5 separate regions of the Homo sapiens genome follow, and regions 1, 2, 3 and 5 are each linked to region 4. The links are contacts of gene promoters, found by promoter capture Hi-C in blood cells and fetal thymus (Javierre and others, 2016). All regions are on one chromosome and are shown on one strand. Each heading gives the region's core, a stretch centred on a gene start or on the middle of the fragment in contact. The rest is flanking DNA. Distances are from core to core; before and after follow the strand shown.

What was found. The method cuts DNA at HindIII sites, captures the fragments that hold promoters and counts their contacts. A CHiCAGO score of 5 or more calls a contact.
Region 1: a contact is called between a fragment that was not itself captured here and the fragment with the promoter of IPO7 in region 4, in 6 of 17 cell types (neutrophils, naive CD8 T cells, activated CD4 T cells and 3 more). The highest score is 8.5, in neutrophils.
Region 2: a fragment that was not itself captured here is called in contact with the fragment with the promoter of IPO7 in region 4 in 2 of 17 cell types (non-activated CD4 T cells and naive CD8 T cells); the score reaches 5.6 in non-activated CD4 T cells.
Region 3: a contact is called between a fragment that was not itself captured here and the fragment with the promoter of IPO7 in region 4, in 2 of 17 cell types (activated CD4 T cells and naive CD8 T cells). The highest score is 5.5, in activated CD4 T cells.
Region 5: a fragment that was not itself captured here is called in contact with the fragment with the promoter of IPO7 in region 4 in 1 of 17 cell types (M1 macrophages); the score reaches 5.0 in M1 macrophages.

What each region holds. Positions count from the first base shown.
Region 1 is chr11:9,158,615-9,162,480 of GRCh38, forward strand. DENND5A (DENN domain containing 5A) reads right to left here. Exons shown (of 23, transcript NM_015213.4): 12 at 2,099-2,251. Among named protein-coding and RNA genes, the nearest start is that of SCUBE2, 69 kb to the left of the region's middle. The HindIII fragment of the contact is 7,618 bases long and covers 1-3,866 here.
Region 2 is chr11:9,190,084-9,194,277 of GRCh38, forward strand. DENND5A (DENN domain containing 5A) reads right to left here. Exons shown (of 23, transcript NM_015213.4): 5 at 3,411-3,598. Among named protein-coding and RNA genes, the nearest start is that of DENND5A, 73 kb to the right of the region's middle. The HindIII fragment of the contact is 3,592 bases long and covers 596-4,187 here.
Region 3 is chr11:9,216,330-9,220,745 of GRCh38, forward strand. The region is part of intron 1 of DENND5A (DENN domain containing 5A); the gene reads right to left. Among named protein-coding and RNA genes, the nearest start is that of DENND5A, 47 kb to the right of the region's middle. The HindIII fragment of the contact is 1,728 bases long and covers 1,954-3,681 here.
Region 4 is chr11:9,382,596-9,386,628 of GRCh38, forward strand. IPO7 (importin 7) reads left to right here and starts at 2,057. Exons shown (of 25, transcript NM_006391.3): 1 at 2,057-2,252. The coding sequence starts at 2,169. RefSeq lists an enhancer at 2,059-2,574. The HindIII fragment of the contact is 13,114 bases long and covers 1-4,033 here.
Region 5 is chr11:9,137,434-9,141,851 of GRCh38, forward strand. DENND5A (DENN domain containing 5A) reads right to left here. Exons shown (of 23, transcript NM_015213.4): 23 at 1,392-2,421. The coding sequence ends at 2,238. Among named protein-coding and RNA genes, the nearest start is that of SCUBE2, 48 kb to the left of the region's middle. RefSeq lists enhancers at 586-775, 1,589-1,883. The HindIII fragment of the contact is 1,904 bases long and covers 1,494-3,397 here.

The DNA.
Region 1 (3,866 bases), core at 985-3,484, 220 kb before region 4:
CTTAGAGAAGCTAGGTAACTTGCTTAGTTTCATAAAGTTATTAAGTGGAAATCATACTTCAAACCCAGATCTGTCTGTTTTACAGTCAAGCTCTTAAACACTTACTATACTATCATCTAAAAATTAGTTAAGGACATAGAAAAGATATGAGATAAAAACAAAGCAAGTTGCAAAGCATTACATACAGTATTAACTCATTTGGATTTTTTAAAAAACCACTTCATTGAGATATAATTCATATTACCATAAAATTCACACTTTTAAAGTATGCAATTTTCTGAACAAAAAAATCTGGTTTTTAGTATAGAGTTGTGCAATCATCACCACTATCTAATTCTAGAACATTTTCATCACCCCCAAAAGACACTCCATATGCATTAGTAGTCACTTCCCATTGCTCCCTTCCTCTAGCCTCTGGCAACCCTTAATCTACTTTCTGTCTGTGGATTTGCCTATTTTAGACATTTTGTATAAATGAGATCACACAATCTGTGGCCTTTTGTGTCTGGCTTCTTTCACTTAGTATGTTTTCAGAGTTCATCCATGTTGTACCACATGTAGGTACTTTATTCCCTTTATTGCTCAATAATATTCCAATGTATTATACCAAATTTAGGTCACCCACTCATCAGCTGATAAATATCTGGGTCATAATAGCCACATAAGATGACACTATTATGACTAATGCTGCTATGAACTTTTTTTTCTTTTTTTTTTTTTTTTGAGACAGAGTTTCACTCTTGTTGCCTAGGCTGGAGTGCAATGGTGCAATCTTGGCTCACTGCAACCTCTGCCTCCTGGGTTCAAGCGATCCTCCTGCCTCAGCCTCCCAAGCAGCTGGGATTACAGGCATGCACCACCACCTGGCTAATTTTGTATTTTTGGTAGAGACGGGGTTTCACCATGTTGATCAAGCTGGTCTCAAACTCCTGACCTCAAGTGATCCACCTGTCTTGGCCTCCCAAAGTGCTGGGATTACAGGTGTGAGCCACTGCGCCTGGCCTGCTATGAACATTTGTATACAAGTTTTTGTGTAGACATATGTTTTCACTTATCTTGAGTATGTATCTAGAAGTGGGCTTGCTAGGTCATATAAGAACTGTTTAACATTTTGAGGAACTGCCAGACTGTTTTCCAAAGTGGCTGCACCATTTTACATTCCCATCAGCAATGTATGAAAGTTCCCATTTCTCCACATCCTTAACACTTGTTACTTATTTTAACTACTCCAGTGGATGTGAAATAGTATCTCATTGTGGTTCCACTGGGTTTTTAAATATACAGCTATATACGCATGGGCATATGTACACAGAAGAATGCTCTGAAGAACATGTGTGGAAGATTGTTGCTATACCCATTAGAATGACACAGGAAGGCAAGAGATCTTGGTCTGTTTTGTTCACTGAGGTATTTCTAGTGCCTACAACAGTACCTGACATAGTAGGCCCTTGAGAAATACCAATGGATACTAATATGTATTTTCTAATTTTTCCATGATAAAACTTCTTTTCAAAAAATTTCAAGTTATTTTCAAATTTAAAAATACATAAAAATAAAAGGTATCTATCTTGACTACCAATTGAAAACAGAGTATTTTGAAATAAGGAAATTCTCTGGGTATTAAGTGGAAAAATCAAACTTACTCAACTTCCTGAGGCCTTCTCTCAAATGTTTAGTTAAACCATCTGCATACAAAAGAAATGTTAATGACAGACTTTTTTTCCACTGTGAATATATGATTAGTGAAGAACCTTTAGTGTATGACTGGTACTTCCTGAGCTCCAACTTCTCTCTTTCTGGTCTATCTCTAGACTAGGGCCAGCTGCCAAACAGGACCTATCAGGTTGGCCTTCAGCTCTACCCCCAGGAAGAAAGATGCCTCTTTTTAAAAGTCTGACAAACACACAGATTTATAAAGCCTATCTTTAAGGAAAATAGTTTGGATCACATTTATTTAATTGTTTATTTCAAATCTCACTCCAGGGCACTGTGCACCATTCTTCAAAGCCAGTCAGCTGGACAAAAAGAGTGTGGGAAAGCTAGTAACTGAAAACAGGAAGACAATTTGCTCAGCAATGAGAGGCAAGACATACATTACCTGTTTCACTTGTAGTCCATGACTCCAGATCCTTTCCAGGAGATCACAAAGGCTGGCAATCAGGGTGTTCTCTTCCACCCCTGTGATGTTCACCTCCCCATGCCCTAGCTCCACAGCTTCTCGGCCCATCTTTTCCACCAGCATCCTCTTGGTCTACAAGGAAGCAGTCAACAGGATTAAATAACCACAGTGAGCAGGATTACATACAACCGGAGAGGGTTCTGACAGCCTGCACAGTACATCTGTTGGGCTGGGAAGGACAGGATGAATTAGCCCCAAGGACACAGAATATATTTATACCCATGTAGGTCAGGTTACAAGGGAGTGCATGCTTTAAAAATTTAGTTAAGAAAGGCCAGGTGTGGTAGCTCACACCTGTAATCCCAGCACTCTGGGAGGCCTAGTTGGGCGGATCACAAGGTCAGGAGATCGAGACCATCCTGGCTAACACGGTGAAACCCCGTCTCTATTAAAAATACAAAAAAATTAGCCAGGTGTGGTGGCGGGCGCCTGTGGTCCCAGCTACTCAGGAGGCTGAAGCAGGAGAATGGCGTCAACCAAGGAAGCGTAGCTTGCAGCAAGCTGAGATCGCGCCACTGCACTCCAGCCTGGGCAACAGAGCGAGACTCCGTCTCAAAAAAAAAAAAATATGTAGTTAAGGAAAGGATAAGAACACAGCAATCTTTATGACTCCTGGCCAGTGATTTCATCACTCTGTATTCAGTTTTTGCATTTATGCAAGAAACAAATAAACCCTTCAGTCATGCTTATCTCTGACATTGTCTGATTCCCACTGCTTAAATGACCCTACCAAACAAACCTTTGAGCATACATACAACTTAGAAACATATCTGAAATAACTGTCAAGGGGACAAAAATTGAGGAGGTAATTTATTTTACATAAAAATTTTCAACTGCTTATTGTAAGATCATAACCAAGAAAACACATACTGCATAATGATAATCACAGTTTTTATTAAGTACTATGTCAGGCATTGTACTTAGCATTTCATTATCTCATTTAAGCCTCCTAACAATCTGAGGTAACTATTATTATTGTTCCCAATTTACCAATACGGAAATTGAGAAATACAGTAATCAATATACTAAATTTAAACATAGTATAAAACAATATAGTATATTTATAGTCTAAGTATAGTTTAATTCTCTTAAGTAACTTGCCCAAAATCTATACGTAATATAGCACTCTATTAAATTATATATATATATATATTGTCCAAAATGAAACAGCAAAGTAGCAATAGATCTGGCCTTTGAACCCATATCTGCCTGAACTTTGAGTCCAAGTTCAAAAGTAAGATTTAACTATGCTATAAATTTGTGATATATAAAAATCTAAGAAAAGGAAAACAAATCACCCCAATCCTACTTTTCAGAAGCAACAACTCTTAATATTTTGGCATATTTCTTTCCACTGTTAGTTTTTAACCTTCTTATTGTGAAATATATAATATATATATGCTATTACATCATTATGACCAGCGCCAGGCCAGTTCCTTCTTTTTTTTTTTTTTTTTTTTTTGAGATGGAGTTTCGCTCTTGTTGCCCAGGCTGGAGTGCAATGGCACAATCTCGGCTCACTGCAACCTCCGCCTCCCCGGTTCAAGCAAATTCTCCAGCCTCAGCCTCCCGAGTAGCTGGGATTACAGGCATGCACCACCACGCCTGGCTAATTTTGTATTTTTAGTAGAGATGGGGTTTCTCCATGTTGGTCAGGCTGGTCTCAAACTCCCGACCTCAAGTGATC
Region 2 (4,194 bases), core at 1,142-3,641, 190 kb before region 4:
TCATTTGGAATGGCAATATTTATCTAATGCCTGTACCCTCATTGTATCTAGGAAGTAACTAACTTGCTTTTGATTTTACAGGCTTATAAGGAAAGGACTTGTCTTGTCTCAGATGAGACTTTAGACTATGGACTTTTGAGTTAATGCTGAAATAAGATTTTGGGGGACTGTTGGGAGGCATGATTGGTTATAAAATGTGAGGGCATAAGATTTGGAAGGGGCCAGGGCAGAGTGATACGGTTTGGCTGTGTCCCCACCCAAATCTCATCTTAAATTCCCATGTGTTGTGTGAGGTACCCAGTAGGGGGTAGTTGAATCATGGGGGCAGGTCTTTCCCATGCTGTTCTCGTGATAGTGAATAAGTCTCACAAGATCTGATGGTTTCATAAGGGGGAGTTTCCCTGCACAAGCTCTCTCTTTGCCTGCTGCCATCCATGTAAGACGTGACTTGCTCCTCCTTGCCTTCCACCATGATTGTGAGGCTTTCCCAGCCACATGGAACTCTAAGTCCATTAAACCTCTTTCTTTTGTAAACTGCCCGGTCTCAGGTATGTCTTTCTCAGCAGTGTAAAAATGGACTAATACACTGCCCCAAAGCTTCCTTCTAAGACTGTAGTTAAAAGATACCACATACTTTAAAGATGTGCATCAAAATATCAAAAGTAGTTATCTCTGGGTGGTAAAATTTGAGGTAATTTTAATTTTATTGTTTATGCTTTTGTGCACTGTTAGCATTTTTTACTATGAACATGTCATTTCTGAGACACCCCAAAGTCGTCTTTCAAAGCCAGCTCTCTTCCCCTAGTCTAAGGTTTTCCACGGGAAATACATAGGCTCAGATACCCCAGAGCTTATCTGCTAAAAATCAAGGTAGAAAATATCCAGCTATATAACTGCTCCCACAAATGTGTGACCTTCAGAAGACAGGTGTGGATGAACTAGGACTCTGAAACCCAAGAACCACTTATGAAGCACACACAGTTAATTCTACTGTTCCACTGTCACCACTCCTTCCCAAGCAGACTACAGGGGAGCCAGAAGCTCAGATACAAAGTTTATAGCAGGGATGGGGAATACAGCAACATGGAGGCTCCAATAGCCCAGAACAGAGGGAACTTTTGGGTTTCTTTTCTGTTTTTTTTTTGAGGTGGAGTCTCACACTGTCACCCAGGCTGGAGTGCAGTGGCGCGATCCACCCAGGTTGGAGTGCAGTGGCGTGATCTCGGCTCACTGCAACCTCTGGCTCCGGGCTTCAACAATTCTCCTGCCTCAGCCTCCCACGTAGCTGGGACTACAGGCGTGCACCACCATGCCCAGCTAATTTTTTTGTATTTTTAGTAGAGATGGAGTTTCACCATGTTGACCAGACTGGTCTCGAACTCCTGACTTCAGGTGATCTGCCCGCCTCGGCCTCCCAAAGTGATGGGATTATAGGCGTGAGCCACCGCACCCGGCCAACTTTTGGGTTTCTTAAACAACCCATGGTTTCTTAAACAGTCCCATTAAGAAATCTGTTGATCCCTCAGAGGTCCCTTTGTATAGCCGTATACATGAAGCACATAGGGAACAACGTTGAAAAATCCTAGAGAGATCAGAATTTGCCCCAAGTATAAAGAAAGCTGATGCCAAAGAGGAAAATAAAACTGAGAAATCTGGCTTCTTGCTTAGTGGCCTATGTATTAAAGTATGCACATAGCTTGCCTCTTTGGCCTTCCACCTTCAACAATTTTTTGTTATTGTTCTTTTTGTGACTTTACAGAATCATAATTAGGTTGACTAAGTTGTATCAATATTAAATAGACATTTGTTTAAAGCAAACAACAAAAAGCTCTTCTTTCTCCAGTCGACTCTTCAGGTTTATGTATGGTACAGTAAGCAAGTACACAAAAAACCCCAATATTATCTCAACTCAATGATTTTATCCATCATTTAGATTTTTTTTCCTTAATTAATCTTGTTCCACCCCAAAGAGCACAACGCTCTATAAAGTCAAAGAAGAAAAAAGGGCAGAAATGGAAGAAGCTACAAGGAAGACAAGGAAGACATTTTGATTCTAAAACTAAAGAAGAGAGAAAAGAGCAGAGATGCATTTGACTATAATTTAAATATCACAGACATGGTCTAATTATCAGGGTATTCATCAAAGATGCTGCCCAGTCATGACCAGTGACACAGTGCTGCCCAGATCCAGTTCCATGAGAATGCTCTCTTCTTGGGGCCCCTCACTTATATTCCTCACTTATATACAAAAATCTCTACCCCCGGCCGGGCGCGGTGGCTCACGCCTGTAATCCCAGCACTTTGGGAGGCCAAGGCGGGTGGATCATGAGGTCAGGCGTTCGAGACCAGCCTGGCCAACATAGTGAAACCCCGTCTCTACTAAAAATACAAAAATTTAGCCGGGTGTGGTGGTGGGCACCTGTAATCACAGCTACTTGGGAGACTGAAGCAGGAGAATCACTTGAACCTGGAAGGCAGAGGTTGCAGTCAGCCAAGATTGTGCCACTGCACTCCAGCCTGGGTGACAGTGCGAGACTTCGTCTCAAAAAAAAAACAAAAAAAAACAAAAAAAAAACTCTACCCCCAAAAAAATGGTGGTGGAAGGAGGAAACGAAGAGTCATGGTGACACCAGTGTATGTATACTCCAAAGTCTTCTTCCCAGGCCTTTCTAATGACTAAGAAATTCAAAGTAGGAAAGCACTTCCCTGCAGGTAGTTTCACAACAGCCACAAAGTAACATACCAGTTCTGCTGGTAATTCTAAAAAAATTAAAAATAAAAAATCTTATTTCTAATCATGCTTTAAATCTACTTTAGAATGGAATAGGAAATACATTATTTTAAATCAATTCTTTTCTTAGCCAGGCACAGTGGCTCATGCCTATAATCCCAACACTTTGGGAAGCCAAGGCAGGAGGATTACTTGAGCCCAGGAGTTCGAGACCAGCCTGGGCAACATGGTGAGACCCTGCATCTACAAGACATAAAAAAACAATTAGCTGGGCATCGTGGCACACTCCTTTAGTCCCAACTACTCAGGAGGCTGAGTCAGGAGGCTCACTTGAGCCCAGGAGTTCAAGGCTACAGTAAGCTACGATCATGCTACTGCACCCAGCCTGGGTAACACAGCAAGACCTTGTCTCTTAAAAAGCAAAACAAAACAAAAACAATAGCATAAATACAGAAATTACAATGTACATATGTCAGTTGATAAAGATAATAAGTGTCTCTGGGATGACATAAATTGAACTAAATATTCATTGTTTTTACTTTTTTCCTGAGAAGTTATTCATAATCACCAAAATAGAAGAAAATAAACTTGGTAACATCATGCATGCTGGGTTCATCCCAAAGCCCTTCTCTCCCCAATCCTGGATTGGGGCCAGAGGCACCAACACTCAAGATCTCACCTCTTGAGGCAGCTCCAGCTTTGACCGGTCATCCAGGCCATTGGAATGCAAACCCATCAGGTATGGAACAGGAGCATCTAAGAAATGCAGGAGAGAAGCTGGGAGAATAGGGACATAGACATGCTGCCACTGGAAAGGAAACATGAGAGCTGTAATCGTCTCCGCCACAGTCATCAGTCTCTGGTAATCTGGGTCAACAACAACAAAAAAAGCACACACACAAATCAGTCAAAAACAAGGCACTTGCTTTCCAAACAGTAAGTTAAAACTTTCAGTACAATTTCTTATTTAGAAACGATCACGATAAACTTCAGCTAGGGTATGCTCAATGTGATTCCCTTGAGGGTGTCCAAGAGACAACCAAGAGACCCTTGTGGACCACAAATTGAAATAAACCTACACACACAGGTCCTTGCTCATAATAAAATCTAATATGGAAATACAACAAAAATAATTAATGACATCTTGCTCCAAATACTACCACAGAATGTTAAGTAGATCCTCTTAAGAAAGGGGGTAGGAGAACTGAACAAAAAGAAAGACAGTGGTCCTGGGTCTCCATTCAGCATGGAAGCAAAAACATGCTCAGTTCTCACTAAGATACATCTGCAGAACATCCTATAAGGAGCTTATGTGAGCTTTGCCTGCAAAGTCAAGCACAAAGAACCACCAAGCATGCAGAAGCTGGTTTTCCACACTAGCCAAGTCTGCTCTACACCTGGCAACCTTTCCTGAATGAGAACAGCATAAAAATGTTATTATAACGTTTCAATAAAAAGCTTCC
Region 3 (4,416 bases), core at 1,568-4,067, 170 kb before region 4:
TGAGGGCTGAAGGTATGCATTAGCTCTTCCTCAGCTACCTCTCTCTTTCCAAAACCTTGCTAAAACAATGGAGGATGGGGAGTGGCATAAACCCACAAAATCAGAGTGAAGGTAATAGTAACAACATTTTAGAAGCTGAAAAGCTGATGGATGAATGGTTACCAACAGTAGGCTTGAGAAAGGCTGAGATACAACGTAACCTCCAAAAAGCTCAGGAACTTATAGCATTAGGCACCTTTCAAAGTGGGGATAAAGATGGAGCTAAAAACAGGAGGACTAACCGAAAGCCTGTTTAAGAACCAGCAGGGCAGGGGACTGTGGCTCATGCCTGTAATCCCAGATAATCAGGAGGATGGCTTGAGGCCAGGAGCTCGGAACCAACCTGGACAATGTAACGAGATCCTGTCTCTACAAAAAATTTAATAATTACTAGTCTGGAGGCTGAGGTGGAGGGATTGCTTGAGCCTGGGAGATTGAGCTGCAGTGAGCTGTGATGGTGCTACTGCATTCCAGCCTGGGTGACAGAACAAGAGCCTATCTCAAAATAATAATAATAATAAGCCAGGCATGGTGGTATGCATCTGTAGTACCAGCTATTCAGGAGGCTGTGGTGGGAGGATCACTTAAGCCCAGGAGTTTGAGGCTGCAGTGAGCTATGATCACACTACTGCACTATAGTCTGGGCAACAGAGCAAGATCCCATCTCAAAAAAATAAATACGAAAGAATCAGCAGGCATCAGCTGATGAACAGATGAATGAAATGTATAATAATACAATGGAACATTATTCAGCCATAAAAAAGAATGGTGTACTGTTACATGCTACAACACAGATGAATCTTGAAAACATGCCAAGTGGCTTAAGATCACATACTGTATCATTCCATTTATATAAAATGTCCTGGCCAGGCGCGATGGCTCATGCCTGTAATCCCAGCACTTTGAGAGGCTGAGGCGGGTGATCACCTGAGGTCAGGAGTTTGAGACCAGCCTGGCCAACATGGTGAAACCCCATCTCTACTAAAAATGCAAAAATTAGCCAGGCGTGGTGGGGCACACCTGTAGTTCCAGCTACTCGAGAAGCTGAGGCAGGAGAATAGCTAGAACCCAGGAGGCAGAGGGTGCAGTGAGCCGAGATCTCACCACTGCACTCCAGCCTGGGCAATAAGAGCAAAAATTCCGTCTCAAATTAATTAATTAATTAATTGCCCAGAAAAGGCCTACGTATGGAGACAGAAAGTAGATTAGTGTTTACCTGGGATGAGGGGATACAGAGTGACTGCTAATTAGTACAAAGTTTCTTTTTAAAGTGATTAAAATATTCTAAAATTAAATTATGGTAACGATTGCACAACTCTGCAAATACATTAAAAAACAGAAATTGTATACTGTAAGCAGGTAAACTAGGCTATGTAAAGTATATCTTCATAAAGTGATTTAAAAAATAAAAGGACAAACAACAAAAGAAATTTGGCATGCTAGTAAAATACAGTCTCCTACTGTCAAAGCATGTGTCATTTCCAACAAAGTATCTTTTCCCACACACAAAAATTATTATCACAGATAAAAGATATGCAGAGATAAAAGATGACATTGTATACATAAAACAAGAATAGACTGTTGTTTTAAAAGAATATTCAGAAAATAAAACAAGGCTGGGCAGTGGCTCATGCCTGTAATCTCAGCACCAAGGTGGGTAGAGATTGTTTGAGTCCAGGAGTTCAAGACCAACCTGGGCAACATGGCAAGACCCCATCTGTACAAAATAATAATTAAAAGATTAGCCAGGCATGGTGGTGCCCACCAGTAGTCTCAGCTACTCAGGAGGCTGAGGCAGGAGGACTGCATGAGCTCAGGAGGCAGAGGCTGCAGTGAGCTGAGATAGCACCACTGCACTCCAGGCTGGGTGACAGAGCAAGACCCCGTCTCAAAAAAATAAACAAAAAAAAAACAAGCTTGTGGAAATTAAAATGGTGTCAGAAAAATTTAAAACTCAACAGAAGAGTTAGCAAATAGATTTGAGGAAATATCCTCAGAAGTAGGACAAAATAAATAAAATTAGAGAAAAAATAGTAATAAAATTAGTCTGGGTACAGTGGCTCATGCTTAGGCTCAGCTCATGCTTAGGCGGGATGCAGTGGCTCCCAGCTCTTTGGGAGGCCGAGGGGAGTGGATCACTTAAGCCCAGGAGTTTGAGACCAGTCTGTGCAACATGGCGAAATCCTGTCTACTAAAAATACAAAAATTAGCTGGGTGTGGTGGAGTGTGCCTGTAGTAGGCTGAGGTGGGAAGATCGCTAGAGCCCGGGAGATGAAGGTTAGAGTGAGCTGTGATCGTGTCACTGCACTCCAGCTGGGTGACAGAGTGAAACTTTGTCTCAAAAATAAATGTATTGGGCCGGCGTGGTGGCTCACGCCTGTAATCCCAGCACTTCAGGAGGCTGAGACAGGTGGATCACCTGAGGTCAGGAGTGCAAGACCAAGCTAGCCAACATGGTGAAACCCCACCTCTACTAAAAAAATAAAAATTAGCCAGGCGTAGTGGCACATGCCTGTAATCCCAGCTACTTGGGAGGCTGAGGCAGGAGAATCGCTTGAACCCGGGAGGTGGAGGTTGCAGTAAGCCAAGATCGCGCCACTGCACTCCAGCCTGGGCAACAAGAATGAAACTCCATCTCAAAAAAATAAATAAACAAATAAATGAAATAAATTTATTTATTTATTTAAGAAATAATAAAATTAGAGTCCATCCAAGAGGTCTAAAACCCAAATAAAAGTATACCATAAAAAGCGAAGAGAAAAAATAAAGGGGAGGAAATTATCAACAAAATAATAAAGTTTCCCAGAAATGACAGGCATGAACTTCCAAACTGAAAGTGCTCTTCAAGGATCTAGCACAATGGATGAAAACAGACCCACACCAAGACACGTCATGATGTAATTTCAGAATGCCAGGGACAATGAGAAAATTCTAGATGTTTCCAGGAAGAAACAAATTTACCAAGGAAAGATATCTGAATAGCACTGGATTTCTCAATAGCAACACTGGAATCTAGCAGACAATGAGGCAATGTCCTCAAAATTCTGTGGGAAAATTATTTCCAGTTAGAATTATATACTCAGCCAAATAATAAGAGAGTAAAAGAAAGAAATTTCAAACATGTAATCTCAAAAAAAGAATGTATTTTCTATGAATCCTTTCTCAGGAAGCATATGCTCTGCCAAAACGAGAATTAACAAAAAAAAACGACTTACATATGGGATGGAGGAAACTGGAGCCATCACGAGAAAGTGACAGAGGATAACTCCAAGATAAGGTGAGGGGACATCCCAAGATTTTAGTGCAATAGGCCTGGCAGGCCAACACCTCAAATAATCCAGATTGATGGGGCTCAGGCAAGAATCCACAGCTTGCATCATATTTTCCAAGGGATCTGTGAGCCAAAAAATACTTTAAGCCACTGCTTTAAGGTGTCCATTACAGGTCTTGCACAAGGGACAAACCACAACAGACTTCTATAACAAAAAGAAATTTTTCAGATGTTGCAAATCTCAGAGACAAAGAATGTGGAGTAATGCAGTAGATTAACACATTTTTTCTGATTGGATATCATCATTTAGAAAGAAAGGAAAGGGGCTCAGTTAAAGCACTCTAGAAGCCCAGGGAATTTGATTCAAATGAAGCTTAATACCTTACTCCTCAAAACATTCTGAAGAGAGATTGGTTTTGTTTTGTTTTTTCAATTTGTGATTTATGTCCCACCTATGTCAAAAAACAAGGTGGTATATAAGAAAAATCATACTAAAAAATTAAAGCAGGACAAAGAACACTAAAAGCAAAAAAAATAGATGTGCTTAAACGCCTGTGGCATAACTTTCTTATAAATTGCAAAAAATGATAGTTTGCTTGCAATGTATGATATTTAAAAATAATTCGGGCCAGGCACAGTGGCTCATGCCTGTAATCCCAACACTTTGGGAGGCCGACGCGGGCAGATCACCTGAGGTCAGGAGTTCAAGACCAGTCTGACCAACATGGAGAAACCCTGTCTCTACTAAAAATACAAAATTAGCCGGGCGTGGTGGCACATGCCCGTAATCCCAGCTACTTGGGAAGCTGAGGCAGGAGAATCACTTGAACCCAGGAGGTGGAAGTTGCAGTGAGCCAAGATCATGCCATTGCACTCCAGTATAGGCAACAAGAGCGAAACTCTGTCTCAAAAATAATAATAATAATAATAATAATAATTCAACATGGAAAAAAATATGAATGAAAATACCGGCCGGGCACAGGTGGCTCACACCTATAATCCCAGCACTTTGGGAGGCTGAGGGGGTTAGATTACCTGAGGTCAGGAGTTCCAGACCAGCCTGGCTAACATGGCAAAACCCAGTCTCTTCTAAAAATAAAAAAATT
Region 4 (4,033 bases), core at 807-3,306:
CCTCAGCCTCTCAAATTGCTGTGGTTACGGTTGTGAGCCACCATGCCCGGCCTAAATTAGGAATAATTCTGTCTTACTTCCAGTACTTCCAGGCACAGTGGCTGGCATATACAAGGTAGTAACATTGCAAAACCCACCGCTTCAGGGAAAGGCTTTCGTGAGCCTTTCCTTCTCTTTTTTTTGTAAATTAAAAACAATAAGTGATCATTTAACACATTGTATTTGAAGGCTTATAATTAATTTTAAGTATATCTGTTTATATAACTTTGTTACAATAATAACAGATATGAAAGGAAATTACTCCAAATCTCACCATCCTGTTAATAGAAAATAAATTATTTTCATTTGCTAACCTTGCTTTTCAGTCTTTGTCCATGTTACAAAGCTATATCCTTCCATAAATACTTTTTTGTTATATTTTTTAATGGCTGTGAAATATTTAATTTACTGGATTCTTGCTATTTGCTTAACCAGTCCTATATTGTTCAACATTTCTCTTCAGAGGCAGAGTGATTTAGTGGAAACAATGGAAAGTTTGAAAACAAAGATCTTAGGTTTGAAATCTTAGTTGAACCTCTTACTACGTGACCTTGGGTAAGTTATTTAACCTTTCTAAAACAAACTTTTTCTTGGCTGTTATAAAAGAGGACTTTTTCTTTCTTTCTTTCTCCCCCACCTCCCTCTTTTTTTAGAGATGGGGTCTCGCTATGTAGCCCAGGCTGTAGCGTAGTGGCTACTCATAGGCACGATCTTAACAGGCTGTCACCTTGAACTTCTGGTCTCAAGCAATCCTCCTGCCTCAACAGGAGGATTACGCCTGGCTAGGAAGGTGTCTTTTATTTTTATTTATTTATTTATTTATTTTTGAGATAGAGTCTCGCTCTGTCACCCAGGCTGGAGTGCAGTGGCATGATCTCGGCTCACTGCAAGCTCCACCTCCTGGATTCACGCCATTCTCCTGCCTCAGTGTAGCTGGGACTACAGGCGCCCACCACCACACCCGGCTAATTTTTTGTATTTTTAGTAGAGACGGGGCTTCACCGTGTTAGCTAGGATGGTCTCAATCTCCTGACCTTGTGATCCGCCCACCTTGGCCTCCCAAAGTGCTGGGATTACAGGTGTGAGCCACCGCGCCTGGCAGGAAGGTGTATTTTAATAGGGATTATGCTTTTACTCTGCATTAAGAGGTGATTTATATGAAGTCCCAACTAAAATTTGGATACTCAATAAAAAGCCATGATTTCAGTATTTGGTAATTACTAATACGTAATGTGATAAAAACCTTTCACACATAAAGTTCATTTAATCTTCCGTGTTATTGCCTTAGGATAAAGTCTCATAAGTGGAATTACTGGGTCAGAGTTTAAACATTTCGTTTCGTTTTGTTTTTTTGAGACGGAGTTTCGCTCTTGTTGCCCAAGCTGGAGTGCAATGGCACGATCTCGGCTCACTGCAACCTCCGCTTCCCGGGTTCAAGCGATTCTCCTGCCTCAGCCTCCCTAGTAGCTGAGACTACAGGCGCGTGCCACCACGCCCGGCTAATTTTTTGTATTTTTAGTAGAAACGGGGTTTCGCCGTGTTAGCCAGGATGCTCTCGATCTCCTGATCTCGTGATCCGCCCGCCTTGGCCTCCCAAAGTGCTGGGATTACAGGCGTGAACCACCGCGCCCGGCAGTTTAAATATTTTAGTGGCTATCAGAAACACATCTCAAATTGCTTTTCAGAAAGTTTCCTTCAATCACGCAGCCATTAGCAATCGATTGCACCACACACTGTATCTGACTCCCTTTATGAACATTGTGGATATAGTATGTGAAACCTTTTGTAACTGATTGTTTTGCTTTTCTTTTTGTGGAACTTGAACATTTTTCGTTTTTGAACAGAAAGACTTGTCTGTAGGAACGACAGCTCAGGCAGCCACGTGGGCTGCGGACTGTGTTTGTGGACTACATCTCCCAAAGTGCTCCGCAGGCGCGCCCACAGGAAGTCGCCGGAGCATCTCCCGCCTCCACGCCGAGGCGAAGAGGTTCTATCCGGGGCCTTGGCGCTTCTCTTTCCTTTCGCGCCGGTTGCCGCTGCGGAGCGCGGCGGGTCCATGTGCGCAGTGAGTGGCGCTATTCCTGGCCCAGTAGCACCCGAGCCCCGGGTTTGACCGAGTCCGCGCTGCGATGGACCCCAACACCATTATCGAGGCCCTGCGGGGCACTATGGACCCAGCCCTGCGTGAGGCCGCGGAGCGCCAGCTCAATGAAGTAAGGACGCCCGGCTAGCGGTGGCGGCGGGCAGGCGGGTGGGCAGAAGTGGCAGGCCGAGCCCCCGGGGCCTGGCCGGAGGCGCGGACGACGTCGTTGAGGGTCCCAGCAGGAGGGTGGGGCGGACATCTGACGGCGACTTCCACGCCGGGGCGCCTCGGTGTGGTGTGGTGGTGGTGGCTGCAGCCAAGGCTGCCTTTGCTTCGGATCCTGAGCTGGGCCTCTGGCTGCGGTCTAGGCATGAGGAGCCGGCTGAGGCGGGGCGGGCGTGACGGGTTGGACACATGGCTGGCTCGGGTGGCTGGCCGACCTCTGGCTCATTCCCAGCTGGTTCCTCACGTCCAGGAGGGGGCGAAACTTACTGGGAGGTTTTTCAGATGTTTCTGAGACCAGTCTCGCCGTCGCAGGGTTTGGAAGGGCTCCTGGGAATGCCGGCTGGTCCTTTGGGGGCTGCGCCTGTCATCCTTGTCACTTTGCTGGGCTGATCAGTGGCCTGCCTCGGGCACAACTTCCTCCTCTCTGGCTGAGTTGCTAGGGAAGGCTTTCAAAGGCAAGCCCGCGCCTCCTTGGCAGGATAGGAGTAGTGCGGGACACTCACAGAGTCTGATCCCTGCTTTTCCGCTGTCCTAATGCTTCAGTCGGGGAGCTGGCTTATGTAGTGGGAAGGATCAGGTGAAGTGCACCCTTCTAGGTATAGCTGCACCATTGATTCCTTGAGTGACCTTGGGCCAGTCGCTTAACCTCTTGATCCTGAGTTTTTCCCATTCATAAAATTACGCCACAGAGTTGCTGTGACAGACAGGTGAGATAATGTTAAGTCTGAGTGCCTTGGAACATGCTGAGCTCCTTATCAGTTCAGATATTGCATTCTCTGAAGGTTTTTTTTTTCCCCCATATTTTGTGGGGACCGCTCCTTGGAAAACAGCTTAATTGCATGAATATTTATTGTACTATCTCCAGTGTCATTCTTTGTTTCTAAACTTTTGCATTTTTACGTATTAATGATCAGTATTTTAAATCCTTCTTAAAAGGGCTGCTGTAACTTTTCTGCCAGTTAGTAACTGTCCTTCAGCATGCTGCTGAATCTGCCAGCTTTACTGAACTTTAGTGTACATTTTTTAACTGAAAAAGAAATCACACTTTAAAATAGAAATTCAACTATTTTATGCGTCTTTTAGCTGGTAAGTAAATAATTTAAAAACATTGTTTATATTGACTTACCAGAAACAGCAGAAATATTACTAACTGGACTTTCAGTGTAAAGGGCTGCACTAGAGATCCCTGCCCTCACGGAACTTACAGTTCAAGAAGACTACCTACAGAGTTTACACAAATTAAATGTAAAATTATTTCAGAATGTTAAATCTATTTTATATGTAAATGAGATCATTATTATACCACACAAAGTGATGATTACATGTTCAAATTTTTAGACTCAGAGTCACCTTGGGAGGAGCTTAGATTTTTTTGGATATAAAATAGTGAGTTGAACCGTATTACCATTTTGAACCATTACCAAACTATGGAAGGAGCAATGGATCACTTTTTGTTTTGATTTGCTTAGTGATAGACATGGGTTAAGTTGAAAATTATTTTGCTTATTAAATAGTAATGCAGTTACAAGCCTAGAAAAGCTAAAAGTTTAGTCATGGTCATTTCTACCATGACTTTGCTCTAATCGCGTATTATTTTGACTAATTATACTTGCATGTAATTATTAATTTTAAAAGTGAGTACTTGAAGAGTTGGTTTGCTTCTACAAAAATGGGGGAAATAATACT
Region 5 (4,418 bases), core at 1,196-3,695, 240 kb before region 4:
GAAGTAGAGCAGGTGCAGAAGCTGAGGCAGGCAGGGCTGCTTGCTGAGTGAACCAAACACACCTGATTTACCCAGGACCACTGGAGAGGCCTGGCTGGGCCCTACACGGAAGAACGCAGTTGACTCAAATGTCCTTGAAATCTTGAGCTACTAAACAGGTCTGTTCTCTTATATCACACATCATTCCAAAACAGATTTGCAGAAGATTACAAAACAAAACACAGTAGAAAGTGAGTAGGATCAGCTGTTACAAAGAGCAAGGAAATAGTTGGTCCCAGCACCTGCCTTAAGGTAAGCTCAGGCCTAGGCCCACAATATAAACACATACAGCTGAGTTCCATGCTGCCCTTCTTGCCCAGCCAAGAATCCCACTTCCTGCTCCAGAGGTACTGCCTACCTTCCTTCCCCTTTCCTCGGCCTTCTCCGAGAGAACTAAAGCTCTGTCCGTGGGCTCCAGGCAGACGGCTGCAGTGTGGCCTCTCACCCCCTCTGCAGGCAGGACGCTGCGCTGCAGCTCTCTGGGCCCTCTCCTCATCTCTTCAGAAGCATTTACCACCTGCCAGGCCCAGGGGATGGAGACAGGCAAGAGATCCCCCTTTTCCCTCTGGGAGCTCACGGTGCAAGGGCTGAGCCTGACACGAAAGCAGGCAATGACAATCCAGAGAGGAGATGCCAGCATCTAAGAAAATGAAGGAGCACAAGGATGGAATGATTAACTGCCTAGGGAGATTGGGGACACTTCACAGCAGGTGACTGCTAAAGTAAACCCTGTACAACAAACACAAAGTGGGTGAAGGGGAGGCATTCCAGGCAAAGGGAAAATGCATGCAAACCAGGAAAGCATAAAAGAGGGCACTGATTGGTCTGAGGTGCCTGACTTGATCACGTTACACTTCTTCTGGAGCTTCCTGCCAAAGCAGCCTGAAGAATAAAAATGAACGAAGCTGGACCTCTCATAAAGGTCTCCCACCTGCCATCCCCAGGAAAGCAAACCTTTCTTTCAAGAGCTTCCCCCGACCCCCAGCTTCCCACACCTGGTCTCCCTTACCCTCTCAAGAAAGGGCCCATCCTGTCTCAGTCAAGTGACAACCTCTGCACCCCTGGCCGGGTCTTTTCCCTCCTGTGTCTCAGTCTCCTCCTCTGTGGAGTGGGGAAAGAACCCTGTCTGCATCCATGTGAATCAGCCACATAACAGCTAGGAAGGCTCCTAGCACTGCGGGCAGAAGGACCCAGGAGACCCCAGGCCCTCAGGGGCATCCTGGGCAGGCCACAACCCCGAGCCTGCTGGTAAAGAGAGGTGATGCCACAAGACCATCCTCACAGATGGACCCAACTGCACCCGCAGCCACCCACTGCTCATAAACCTCCATAAAAATCAGTGATCCATGCAGTTTTTGTTTCAGGTGTTTTATTAAGTGGGCCATACTGTAGCTGGTTTCTAAGTTGCAAAACATAAATTTAATAATAATAACATAGCCAGTTAGATTGTGACAAGCTTTTCCTTTCCTTAAAAAAAGAAAATACTTAAAAACACACAATGGCGGGTTAAATAAATAAAACATTTTAAAAAAGAAAAAAGAAAAGAAAAACCTGTTAAAACATGCTTATGTTTACTTCTGTGAAACTGTGCCAACAGGAAATGTGGTATTTGGCACGATGACACATCCCGGCATGTCTCCTTCCCAAACAATACTGACAAAAAAGAAAATACGTGGGACTGACTCATCGGTGCTTGCTTAGAGGCACTACTAAAAATCCCTTTGATTGGAGCATGGGGCTTCCCGCGCAGCACACCTGTGTGTGGCCTATGAAAGCCAAATATCCATAATAATGTTAATATAGAAAAACATTAGTTTAAAAATGATGTGGAAGGGCCTCATTAATGCGACGGGGCAAGGAAACATAACTGTCCCGCACGCAGTGCCACAGGCTCAGTCCAGGGAGGCCTCAGGCTTCCAGCATGTGGCCACGGCGAGGGAGGGCACCAGCTTCAAAATAAGCGGCACCAGCCTCGCTCCCTCTCCCTATCACTCTTTCACATGAAAGTGTGTAAAAAGCAAATCAGCAAATAAACTCTAAAATAGATTATTTATTCCAAAAATCCTCTAGTTTTCTTTTTACAGTGAGTGTACATTTTGTCTCCTACTCCTGCACAATCGCTTAAGTCCCTTTGGGAAAAAAGGTCAGAGCTGCAGGGTGAGTCTTTCTCAGTCCTGCTGCTGGCTGGTGCTGGGAGGTCAGATGTCGATGCCCTTGACAAGGGACGTCTCCAGCGTGATGTTGAACTCCTGCAATGTCTGCAGCACACGAATCAAGGAATTGACAAGTGTATGGTCTTTGATCAGTGCCACATCCTCATACATGTGTGCAGTGATGGGGCAGTCAGCCAGCAGGGCAATCCAGTGGTGTAGGAGGTGATCTCTGGCAGAGCGGGAGCAGTCCAGGCAGGTCAGAGGGGCAAAGGAAAAGGAAGAGAGAGCGTTAGTGCAAGGCCAAGGGGGAAACCATGAACTAAGTCTGAAGCTGGAGAAGCTGACAGCCCCCCACACCCCCCTTTCCCAAACAGGGACTGGCAAAGAGGTCTTTCAGCTCCAGGACACCAAACAAACCTGACCCAAATCAGCCCTGTCATGAGCCTCCAAGCCTCCTCCTCCCCTGCCTCCCTCGCCCTGCCTAGTCAGCCCCACCACTGGTGTCTCCCAGAGCTTCTCTCCTCCCACAGCTACCACCACCAGGAATAATAATAAGCACTAACCTCACATAACACTCAGCATGTGCTGGCACTGACATAAGAGATTTAATCTTCATGATAACCCTGTGATATGAGGTAGGTACTATTATTATCCCCACTTTATAGATGAAGAAAGTAGGGTAGATGGAAGTTAAGTAGCTTGTCCAAGATCACATGGCTAGTAAATGGATAACTTGAGATCTGAACCTAGTGAATGCGGTTCTGGAGTCTGTTTTTAACCACTATGCCAATTCTCTCCCTTTATGCAGCCTGAATAAACTGCCTTAAGTTTATTTGAGCTTCATGCTCTCTCACCTGACCTACAGGAATAGCCCCTAATAATCATGTCCACTCTAATGCATACCACCCATAATATCAGATTAATATTACTTCAGTCCCCTGATGAAACAACTTTGTACTAATATGAAAAGAATCTTTCTCTGTCCCAGCTCAGGGGCCCTACCCTCCTTTCAACTGTGTTTCCTATTACTGCCCTTGCCACGTTCTGTTATTTCCTTCCATTAAAGGCTCACTTAAATACCAACTCCTCCCTGAAGTCTTCTCTGATCTTTCTCCTCTACCTTTTCAGCATATTGTATGAATGTACACTTCATTTTTGGACCCTCAAAACCTTCTTCCATGCTCTGTATTTAATTAGGACAAGTAAGCTTCTAAATGTTGGCCAGGCATGGTGGCTCACGCCTGTAATTTCAGCACTTTGGGAGGCCAAGGAAGGCAGATCACCTGAGGTCAGGAGTTCAAGACCAGCCTGACCAACATGGAGAAACCCCGTCTCTACTAACAATACAAAACTAGCCAGGCGTGATGGCGCATGCCTGTAATCCCAGCTACTCGGGAGGCTGAGGCAGGAGACTCACTTGAACCCAGGAGGCGGAGGTTGTGGTGAGCCGAGATCACACCATTGCACTCCAGCCTGGGCAACAAGAGCGAAACTCCATCTCAAAATAAATAAATAAATAAATAAATAAATGGTAAGGGGCCACGTTTTATTCAGCTGTCTTCCTACCAACTTCCATAAGGCCATTTAAATGTCTAATGAAGGAATAACTAGATATACTCTGCTTCAAACTTCCCCAGTGGTGTGATTTTGATCTTTCCTTTCAAAATGGGGCCCCTCTGCCCCGAGTTACATACACGTTGTCATCCCTACCCCGACAGATCACCACACACATAAGTCACGTGTTGCTTAATGACAGGGATACAGTCTGAGAAATGTGTCATTAGACAGTTTCGTCACCATGCGAACTTTATAGGGTTCTCATACAAACCTAGATGGTAGAGCCTACTATATGTCTAGCCTGTTGCTCCTAAGCTACAAATCGGTACAGCCCTGTCACCAGCCCCCAGGCCTGCTCTTCTACACTTCTCCTGGAGCTTCCTGCCACAGCAGCCTGAAGAATAAAAATGAAGGAATACTGTGCTGAATACCGTAGGCAACTAAAACACAATGGTAAGTATTTGGGTACCTAAACATCTCAACCTATAAAAGGTACAGTAAAAACAGAGTATAATCTTATAGGACCATCATCCCATAAACAGTCCGTCACTGACAAATGTTGTTACGCAGCACATTTTATGCAGTGTGTGACCATACACGATACACAGAGGAAATTCAGGGCTTCTAGGAAACCTTCTAAGGCCTCATCTCCCTAAGGGCACCTGATGA